4 separate regions of the Homo sapiens genome follow, and all the other regions are linked to region 1. Evidence: promoter capture Hi-C in human tissues and cell types (Jung and others, 2019). All regions are on one chromosome and are shown on one strand. The core of a region is centred on a gene start or on the middle of the fragment in contact, and the rest is flanking DNA. Distances in the headings are between cores, read along the strand shown.

What was found. Contacts are between HindIII fragments. The study calls those that stand out against the background at their distance.
Region 2: a fragment that was not itself captured here is called in contact with the fragment with the promoter of PTPN13 in region 1 in 2 of the 25 tissues and cell types used here (dorsolateral prefrontal cortex and hippocampus).
Region 3: a fragment that was not itself captured here is called in contact with the fragment with the promoter of PTPN13 in region 1 in 1 of the 25 tissues and cell types used here (hippocampus).
Region 4: a contact is called between a fragment that was not itself captured here and the fragment with the promoter of PTPN13 in region 1, in 3 of the 25 tissues and cell types used here (H1 embryonic stem cells, dorsolateral prefrontal cortex and hippocampus).

Annotation. Positions count from the first base shown.
Region 1 is chr4:86,592,922-86,595,621 of GRCh38, reverse strand. It overlaps PTPN13 (protein tyrosine phosphatase non-receptor type 13), which reads right to left and starts at 1,307. Exons shown (of 48, transcript NM_080683.3): 1 at 833-1,307. It also overlaps a transcript of MAPK10 not described here. RefSeq lists an enhancer at 1,070-1,656. The HindIII fragment of the contact is 10,688 bases long and covers 1-2,700 here.
Region 2 is chr4:86,751,322-86,754,021 of GRCh38, reverse strand. PTPN13 (protein tyrosine phosphatase non-receptor type 13) reads right to left here. Exons shown (of 48, transcript NM_080683.3): 20 at 957-1,013. Among named protein-coding and RNA genes, the nearest start is that of SLC10A6, 97 kb to the left of the region's middle. The HindIII fragment of the contact is 3,681 bases long and covers 1-2,700 here.
Region 3 is chr4:86,783,564-86,786,263 of GRCh38, reverse strand. PTPN13 (protein tyrosine phosphatase non-receptor type 13) reads right to left here. Exons shown (of 48, transcript NM_080683.3): 38 at 1,706-1,799; 39 at 896-1,033; 40 at 328-416. Among named protein-coding and RNA genes, the nearest start is that of SLC10A6, 64 kb to the left of the region's middle. The HindIII fragment of the contact is 4,039 bases long and covers 1-2,700 here.
Region 4 is chr4:86,806,781-86,809,480 of GRCh38, reverse strand. PTPN13 (protein tyrosine phosphatase non-receptor type 13) reads right to left here. Exons shown (of 48, transcript NM_080683.3): 45 at 1,584-1,921. Among named protein-coding and RNA genes, the nearest start is that of SLC10A6, 41 kb to the left of the region's middle. The HindIII fragment of the contact is 5,393 bases long and covers 1-2,700 here.

The DNA.
Region 1 (2,700 bases), core at 58-2,557:
AAGGCTGTCGAACAGATTAGTTGGAAGTGTGCGGTGGTGTCGATCATATACGTGTATGGCCAATGAAAACTGTATTGCTGTAAATCTCTTAGTGATATTTCTCCCCATCCTCCTCTCTCCATTATATTCACAACAGAAGGAAATTAAACTTTGTAAGAATTTTCTTGACTTTGGTTTAACTTTAGCTTCCCAGCTGTCTGCTCTTACAGTATCACGTAATGAGCAAAGCGGTGGGGCTAGGGGGCCGGAGGGTAGAGTGTTAACTTTAGCAAGCAGAAGAAAAGCAATAAAAGACCTTGCATCAGACAGTGTCTCTCCCTCTGCCCCCTCTTCCTCTGCTTCCCCGCCATCCCACCCCCTTCTCGAGCCCTTACACACACATTCTTCTGGGCGGCCTCTAACCACACCATCTCCACAATCATTTGCAGAAATTAGAAACAGACTCCGGGAGCCCTTCCCTTAAGCACGCACAGAGCGGAGCTGTGCAAGCACGACGGGGCAATGTCACTCCCTATTACCCCACAATCTCTTACTCCCCCTGTGGGTTTCATTCCCGAGAATCCGGCTTTCTTCCGCAGAGGAGATGGATCTACCTAATTAGCAATGGAGTTTCATCTCATTCTTCCCCACTCCAGTCACCCCACCCCCACTCTAACGTACAAAAACACCCACCACCAAAACCAAAGAAAAGTTCCTTCTACCAGGGCAACCGAGGAGTTGGGTTTAGGGACTGGAGCGAAAGCAGAGAGAGGAGGAAGAGAACGAGCGCAATGTACTTTGTTTTGCACTTCTGCACATGCAGCGCAGAGCCCAGGGCGGCTCTCGTCCTTACCGGCTGGTCCCGAGACCGGGTCCTGCTACTGGAGCGCCGGGCGAGGGCTGCAGGGACGCGGCGTCGGGGCGGGCCGCCGGCAGCCGCCGCGGGCGCCGAGAGCCACCACCACTTCTCCCACAAGCGGCTGCGGGCGTGGGCTGAAGGAGCTGTAGAAGGAGCCTGGGGAGGGGGAGAAGAGGAGCAGCATCTCCTCCTCCTCCTCCTCGCCTCGGAAACGCTCCCCAGCGGCGATCCCGGCCGACTGCCTGACCCCCGAGCGCTCAACGCACCCCCGCCGCCCTACTGTGCTCGACGCCTCTCCAAGAGCTTCGCCAAAACCTTCTGGCGCGGGCGGCTCAACTCCTGTAGGCGACTCTGACCGCTGCCGAGGCGGACCGGGGAGCTACGGAGCACGGCTCGCCAGCACGACGGTCTCCAGGGGCCGTGAGCATGGTGTGTCACCCTCGCCTCAGCGTGGCCGCTGGAGCTACTCGCACCACTGGGGCTCCACCTCGGGCAGCCGCGCCGGCTCCGCCCCCCCGGTCCTGTCACTCAACCATTCCCCGGCACTGGGAGGACCGCAGATCTCCCACCCCGAGCTCCCCTCGACCTCATTGGCCCGCCTGGCATCCAGCTCCACCTCCTCCCTAGGGACGAGGTCGCCAGGGAGACCAGCGCCCCGGTTGCCATGACAACCAGTGCCTTGGGCCTGGCTTTTCGCGTTCTTCGGACTAGCCAGAGGCTCAGGTTGGTGACCGAGCGGCAGAGTTCCTAGCGCCTGCAGTGTGGTGAACTCCAACTTTTAGGCCAAGTTGAAAATGCAGCCGACGACCCCCACACTTCTAACTTCAGAATCAAAACTATGACCCTAGGGAGTGAGGAGGAGAGTGAAAAATGCGTAAGTGCTGGCTCCTCCCTTACTCTTCGCTGCCTCTCAGCCTTGTTTCTATATTCTCACGGGGCGCTTTGGTCTTTGAAAGGAAGAGGAGAATGGGGGAGAGGAAGAGCATGGCTTTGCCAGCTCCTTGCAGCAATATAGCAACTTAGAAATGGCGGGGTCAACGAAAAAAGCCCGGTGAGTTTTCCCACGGTTGTAAAGCTATCTTCAAAAGTGTGGTGACAGCACAACGCCAAATGCCCTAGGGAAAACTGAAATTCTCATATTTTTGAAAAAAGTTTGTAAATACTTGCCTTGTTATTTTATCTATGAGACTAAAATAATCCCGAAGTTTGAAAATTTAAGGAAAAGGTTTAACATAGTCGATAACCTCCCACTTTTCTATATACACTGAAATTTGGCCAAGGTATATCCAGACAGCTGTACCCCTCCTTGCTGCAAGCCGAAATATTTGAGTTTCAATAGTTAAACAAGAGAGTCTTGCTGAATTCATGAACAAATAATATCCTGTGATTTGAGTTTTGAAAGTTTTGGGTTATTCTCAGAGGTATAAGGTAAACTGGTCCACTCTGGAAAGGGTACCTGAAGATAAATTTAGTCTGAGACCCTTAATGTTGAGCCCTAGGTAAATCTGAATTTCATGGCTGGCTCCAAAGTGGAGAGATCTGAGGCTTATTTGGCTTCCCCAAAAAAAGTCAAAGCAGCAATCCTAGGTTCCCTAGCCCCTGAGGCTGCCATACATGTATGATGAATGAGGGAATTAATAGTAATGATTTATCTTTGGCGAGCACTTGAGTTTTCATTATATCATTTACTAAATGAATAACTATGATAGATATCTTCAGTCAAATATGCCTTACAAGTATGCATTGAATGTGATTACTCATAGGGCTAAACACAACGGAAAATACACAGCAGGATTTTAAGCTAAGTCCCCGCTCCCAAGGAGCTAACCTGGAGCCTAAGAAAGAAAACTAGCACTCTTGAA
Region 2 (2,700 bases), core at 19-2,518, 160 kb before region 1:
GTTTGACAGTTTTGACCTAAAAATACCCAGCAATTCTATATAGTTCAGTCTTATGCCTTCTGTTTTACCCTGGCTACAGGAATATTGAAACTAAATTTACAACTTCATCAAGTTTAGCTGTATTAATAATTTTAATTAACATAATGGCTTCTTTCTCATCAGGCTTTTAATTATTTCAACTTTAAGAGTCCAAGACTGAAACATTTTTGGAGGAAAGTAGTGTATGGATAGTAATAAAACATTATTTTCTACTCATGAAAGTTGTTAGAAAGATCAAATAAGATAATGTATATGAAAATACTTTGCAATCTAAATTCTAAAAATTTTAAAGCCAGTGATGTTCAAGTCACTGGACATTTCTGGTCTTCTGCCTACGATTTTGTTTCTTAGATTCCTTCTAAACTATAATCTCAGCATTTAAAGTCTTCAAAATATCCTCATAATATTTAGCATAAGATTAAAAACTGGTCCCTACTTAGTTCTCAAACTTTACCCTGGCCCCCACATGCCACCATACTGAGACTCCTGCAGTTCCCTAAATTTCTTTTCTCATGATTCCATGTCTCTGACCATGCTATGCCCTTGATCTGGAATGCTTATCTTTATTGTTCCGTCTGAATGAATCCTCCTTTCCCTCTAAAATTCAGCTCCAGCATCCCTTTAAAATAACTGCCTCAGTTAAAACTCTTTTTAATAGAAATTATCTCCCACCTGAACTATTATCTTAGCTTCCCAATTAGTGTCCTTATCTCTAATTTGTCATTTCATCAACATTAGCCTAAATCAGAGGTCCCATTACATCATTATGATGCTGAAAAATACAACTCTCCTTTAACTTCAATGTAAGATCAAATCCTAGGCATGGAACTCAAGACTCTTCATTGTTAGGTCCAAGACTATCTCAGTAAGGTACAAGAAATGATGGAAATGAGGGGAAAAACATTTTGTAAACCTACCATTTTCTTTTAAGGGTACTTGGGATGAAGAGTTTCCAGAACTATGCATAGTCATTCCTGTGGCATAAATTAAATATTAGACATTTCATAAGATGGTCAGATGCTAGATATCGAAGTGATTTCTTCTGATAAGCTCATAAAAATCAATAGAACAATAAGGCAGCAACATTTTGTATTTACACTGAGAAAACATCCTCCAATGGGCATTTTCACTATTTTAAATAGTAGCTAAGCATAATAACTTATTTTGCAGCATAAATTTAAACACAAATATATTGTTTCTGACAATACTTTGATATATCAAATATGAAATGATGAAACTGGAATGAGTTTTTCATTTGTTCAAGTGTTAAAAGAATATTCATTATTCAGTAAGAATGAATAAATACAAAATGCAGAAAAATTTCCTTTAAGAGTGTTTTATGTTTTCTATAGAGTATTTACTATTTTCCTTCGGATATGTAATGAATTTTCATGTAGACCAAAGCCTTCTTAATGAAAATAGTTTAGAATGTATGAGGCCCCGTTATATGTGAACACTTTGAAAAGTATTTCCTAAAAGATCAAATCAATCTCTTAGCCTATTTTCAACACAGAGTTACCTATAGAATGAAATCTTGCCTTTTATCTAAGTTTTTTTAACTGACTGAAATTAAATTGATAGTATAGTCTCTGAAAGTTGCGAAAGCCTACATTAATAAAGTAATGTTGCTTCCATAAATATTTATGTATTATAATGCAGAATTGTCTTTTGTCTTCATTTACTCGACATACCCTGAATCCAATTATAGAATAAAAAAAGCTTTTAAACTTTGGGTAATTAGAGATAAATTAACAAACCTTGAGCCTAAGAAGAGAGTTTAGTAGTATTTCGTAAGACAACAGAAGGGAAACAGTCCTCATTTCCCTTTTGTTTCCCACGCTGTTTCATATTTTGAGTAGTAGTTCAGATCTCTGTGCTTAAACATCCATTCTTTTCAAAGATCGACTCCAGTGCGTTTCCCTTTTAAGTTGCACAAGGCAACAGGAAACCTGAACTATTTATCTTAAAAGGTAGCATGTATAAAAGGTAAGCATCTTAAAAGGTGCATATATATAGATATATATGCACATGTGCATGCACACACACACACACACACACATACATACAATTTCACTTAAATAATATGCCCTGCTATCTGGGAGAATTTGAAGAAACTGAAATCAACTTAAAAACTTCTACCTATCAACCATAGCACATTTCATAAAATTATCTAAGGTTTTAGAGACAATTTTGTTCCTGCTAAGCTGAAAGCATTCTAAGTAAATGCTTCTCCAAAACTATAGCATTACCAGAGTTCATTCACATCGGCTTGAAAGGAAAAGCCAAAAAAGGTAATCCAAAGTAATGGCACATGACAGTCTTAGTAAGACTGTCATGGCAACTGTGACCAAGAGAAGCTAACAGACTGGGCGTGATGGCTCAAGCCTGTAATCTCAGCACTTTGGGAGGCCAAGGTGGGCAGACCCCTTGAGTCCAGGAGTTCAAGACCAACCTGGGCAACATAGTGAAACCCTGTCTCTACAAAAAAATATAAAAAGCCAGATGTGGTACTGCGTTCCTGTAGTCACAGCTATTCAGGAGGCTGAGGTGGGGGGATCACTTGGGCCCAGGAGTTTGCAGCTGCAGTGAGCCATGATCTCTGCACTCCAGACTGGGTGACAGAGTAAGACCCTGTCTGAGGGGGAAAAAAAGAGAAGCTAA
Region 3 (2,700 bases), core at 198-2,697, 190 kb before region 1:
TACTATTTCATGCTTTTCCTTAGCCTAATATCCCAGAAGATCCTAAGTTTTAAGGTTTTAAAGAATAATTTATAAAGTTTAGCATTACATTTTTGAAAACTAATTGTTTTTTTTTCTATTTTTTTTAATTTGAGAAAATTTGTGTAATGATTCTTTCACTAGGATAGGATGACACTTTAATGTAACACATGAAATTAATCTCCGTTTTCCTCCTAAATTTAATTTTTGAGTAAAACAGGAAAGAATCTCTGATTATTTCACCTTCTGGGTTAAACCCATAATTGTAACAAGCTGTCATATCCTAGGTTGTTTAGGTATTATTGTTACCTCAGTAAAATACTCAGGTAAAGGTGAACCATCGCAGTCTGTATCTTCTGTTCTCTCTTCTGATAACTTCCCATTCATCTTTAATGTACCTGAGAGAGGAATATATAGGCCAAGAGGAATTTATAAAACTATTGAGGAAGTAGAAAAGTTTTCATTTGCCTGCAAAAGAAGGCAGTGTATAAACCAATATCCATAAATAGTTTCAATGTTTTAACTAGAAAAGTTAGGAAGAAATGATCAAGTACATTTTGGTATAAAATTTCTGGTTAAAATTATCTACTAAAATTAAAATGAGAATGGCTGGGGGAAAATGTTTGGACTAACCCTACTAGAAGTAAAAGCCATGATATAAATGATACATTTGGAGATCTCACTAATAAGGTAACCCACTTACAAATATGGAAAATAAAAAAAATAGGAGATAACAAATTCTGTTTTGTTTCTGAAATATTACACATGAATGAGGAACAGAAGAAGAACTAATGCATTACATATTTACTCAAAAAATGCTCCCTAGAGACGTTTTTGTACTCCATAGTATACCAATTTATTCATCTGGTTCACGTACCTGGACCACAGGAGTATCCTGCTGCATTATTTTCGTTTAAAAGATTCTGGGCTTCCTCATCCACAACATCCAGCAGAGACTGGATAACTTCAGCTTCTTGGGAATCATCATAAATGTCATCTTCTTGTATATAAGATTCTTGAAAAATAATAATTTACATGGGGTTTTACTTTAAAAATATTGACACGAGAAAGGGACAAGGTGTTAAACAGAATTTGCTAGGTGCTTTCAAATTTTAAGCAACCAATTTTAAAAGTAGCAATGACTGGAAAAGTAGTTTACACTAATGTGATCCAGTCATTTTTAGTTCTAAAACTACCCTGGCTGCTATGATGGAAGACCACACAAATGCAAATTACAAAGAATAAACTAAAATCAATGTTGGTGATACGGCTTTTCACAAGGCATTAATAATTTAATGTTTATTTTCTTAAATGACTCTCAATGTATTAATTTATGAAAGAAACAAAGTTATGTTACAATGATTAAGGATATAATAGATCAGACAAAACATCCTCAAGATACTTTTTCTAAACTATTAGGTAGCCTGTGAATTGCTACTTCACAAAATACAAGAAACACTGTAAAACACAGCAGCTATCTTTTCAATCATTTAAAAAAAATTAGTCTCAGAGACGAGAATGAATACTGGGACATTTATATATTGTTCTTTTGTTTATTTGACCAATAATCTTTCCCTTTAAAGCTACAGTAACATATAAAGCAAAGAAAAGAGGATACCTATTTTTTTTTAATTACCTGAATTATTAGGGCATTTAGAGTAATTAGATGACTGATTTGGAAAACTACCTTTGGGCAGAGTCAAGTTTGGTGATCCCTTTATCTGATAAGTAGAACATTTTCCTTTGGGGTACGATATTTCATTTATTTCTTCCCCAGCAACCTAAAGCATAAAACCAAAGCAAATCATCAGATAGTATTTTACTAACTTCCAGGATCGGGGGACTGCACATTGTCTCTCTCCTCTTCTTTCTTAGTACAAGATCCATTTTACATCTCTCCACCTTAGATCAGTGTTTGAAAGGAAATATCAGTGCAATTAAATGTGCATAGGGCATGGGGCTTCCCATCATTAAATATATCTGGAAATACTAGGTGAAACAACATTAACTCAAAATTTTTATTCCAGGAATTTTCACAGTCCTTGCTAATATAAACTTTGAGTTGCCAAAAGATAACTCTATTATGTAGTACTTCTTAAAATATCTGACTGTAGACATCTCTTTTTTGAAGCAATTTTATAAGACTTGTCTTTCATACAATTTTAAAAAAGTTTAATAGGACTATTAAAGCTTAGAAGTTGAGGGAAAGAGAAAATACCAACTTTTCAAGTACTTGTGAGTGTATTACATGGATATAGTCTCCAATTTAGTGACCTGATAATCTATTAGGTATAAAGATTTTCAAATCTAGTCTAAGTCTCATATAAATTTAAGAAAAATAATGAATTCATAACAATAGAATAATTATTGAATAGAATGTAAATTTTGAATGCAATGTTCAACTGTAAAGCACTTCATGGAGCATAGCCTATCAAAAGAAAAATCACTTGAAAAAAATGCAAAAATAAATGCTTGGAATAAATTAAAATAATTTTATACAAATAAAAGGTTGTGCTTTGCTCTCAAGGTTTCACTCATTCTATTAAGATAAAAAGTACACATGGTAGATGCAATAGAATTTTAAAAAATAAATAGTGGTAATATAATATCAAAAAGCATCACTGGATTATGAAACTCCATTCTCAATGAGAAATTAATAGTATAGATATTAGCATTCAAGGA
Region 4 (2,700 bases), core at 97-2,596, 210 kb before region 1:
ACTGATCCACTCACCTTGGCCTCCCAAAGTGTTGAGATTACAGGCGTGAGCCACTGTGCCCGGCCACAATTAATTCTTAATATTATATTGTGCTTTCAAATTTTGGCTTGTCTATAGGATCAGATCAAAGGAAAAGTGGAAGAAACTAAATGGCTCTATTAAGAAAAACATGGAAGGCCTCTATCAACAAGGTTGCTAGATCCACATTTTAAATATCGATAAAAACTACTTTTTGGAAACCCTAAAAACAAATTGCATTTTGATAACAACCTTTTCTGGTGACCCCATTCCAAATGCACCTCAGATAAAAGTCAGAGTCACTGCAACACTACCTAATCTGGCCCTGTTTCCTCTTAGACCTCACCTCCTCCTCTCTTTCCCCATGGCCACTTTCATCAAGCCAAATGATTCTCTGTGGCTTTAAATACAATGTGCACAGTTTGGTCTCAGGACTTTTGTACTGGCTCTTTCTGACTGGAATGGTTTTCTCCTCAGATATTCCCTCCATGGCTCACTCAACTCATTCACATTTTTCCTCAAATGCCATTTTCTCATACCTTCCCTGACTCCTTGTTGAAAATTACGACATACTTCTCATTCTCCCCCAGCCAATTGTCCTTCTCTATTTTTTTCCACAGCACTATCAATACTGGTATTTCCTCTTCAGAATGTAAGCTCCATGAGGTTAGAAATATTTTTTGTCTGTGTTGTTGACTGCCAAATCTCTATAAAGGGGTTGAGTTCTATAAAAATGTGTGGATTAAGTGGATAAATCACTGGAAGAATATTGAACAACTGTGCTAGCCTAAGTAATAGGTAAGCTAGTGTAAATCAATAAAAAATCATGAATCAAAAATTATGAGAGAAATTCTCAGGCTACATTTACATGACACCAATAGAACTGAATTGATATGCTTTGTTTCTATAAAAGTAAAATCACTGTTTCCTTAAGATAGCTAAATTTCTATGGGAAACATTACTCACATCTAGCTAGGATACTGTGCACAGGCGTGTAGTAAGGTGAGGGAGAACACAGAGTGAGGAAACAGTAGCAGCTTTACTTCAGGTATTGCCACTTATCTAATTCAAGCTAGATTGATCCAGTGGTTAGGTAACTGCAGTATGAATGATCTGAATAACAACTGTTTATGCTAAAATTATCCATGTATTCCTAAATATGTTAAGTTGCCTTTATGAGGGAATATTTTCTACTTAAAGATTTTAAAAGTAGTTTCAATGAGTCTACTTAGAGGTCTGACCATAAAAACACAAGTTTCCAACATGCAACTTCTGAGCCATTTTGTGCTATCACCAAGGATGATAATCACATTAAAAGTCCTGCATTTTCATTTCCATTTTAGTAGAGGACATACTGGAGGAAACTGGCAGAATTCATGAAGACAGTCACATTTAAACTTATATTACATAAAGAAAAAATAGCTAGCATTAGTTCCATTGCATGGGAACTAGGAAGTCACTGTCTTTTATCTAGAAATAACATTGGTGCAATCACGGAAAGAGTCCAGGCTTGGATTACAACTAGGAGATACACCTTCCAACAGGGAAAGATTTCATTCACTTACCTGAATATCTTCAAGGGTCATTGCCCTCACCACAAAGCCCTTCAGCTGCTGCATTCTCACAAGAGCCAGTCGAAGTCTGTTGCTGACCATTGTTGTTTTGCCTAGGATGTTGGGCCAATAGCGCTGGCATTTGATTTTTTCTCCTTCTACTTCTTGAGTCATCATGGCTATCACTGTGGATTTTTGCTCCCAAATCATCTGCCAGAAGTCTCCAACAGTTGTAGGCAGTGGTCCTTGGCAGGCAATGTAAACGAACTCTTCTTTCCCAACTGGTATCTTAATGAAGCTGGCATTGATATAGCCACCTTCATCTCCAAGAGGCACTCTTGTAGCATCATCTGTGAATTTTCCACCACAAAACAGAGCCATCCATATCATGCATTTTAAACAAGAGTCTTACAAATTGCATGAGTCAAAGATCATGAGAAATTCTCATAGTCACAGATGAAATCACCAACGTATTTTAATAGAAGTATATTTTCAAATTGTAGCACAGCCAAATTATTTTATGTTTATTCTTTTTGCTCATGTTACAAGTATCTAAGCTGTTAGTTTAGTGAGTTTCTGACATATGAAATTTGGTATTATTTACATAGATTTAGTTGAAATTAAAATTAGTAAGTTAATAAATGCATTTAGAATTGCCTAATAAGTAACTAGAGAAACAAAGAAAAACAACTGGTACTTCTCCATCATTATTTTAATGATGATGATGATAATAATAATAGCACTGAAAGGCAATGCCAAAAAATTTTTCATAGAACACAATTTAGTATTACAATAACACTATTAAAGTATATATTGCAAATGTTATTGGCATAATTAACTCTCACTCACCTAATAAAATTATATTCTTTTAATAAGCAGCCAAAACAATAAATTAACACAATAAAGAAAATAACAGCTCATTTTATTATCCAGGCATAAAGGCCCTTATCTTTGTTTTATTATAATTTCATATAGTCAAAATGTAATTTTTTAAACCAGGCTGCTCCAGTGAAAAGTATGTACAAGCTATCATTCACTGAGGTTATATTGTCTAAGATTTATCTAAGAGAATAAATTTATATGTATTACATACCTTAGAAGTTATTTCTATTTCTATTTCAAATATCTA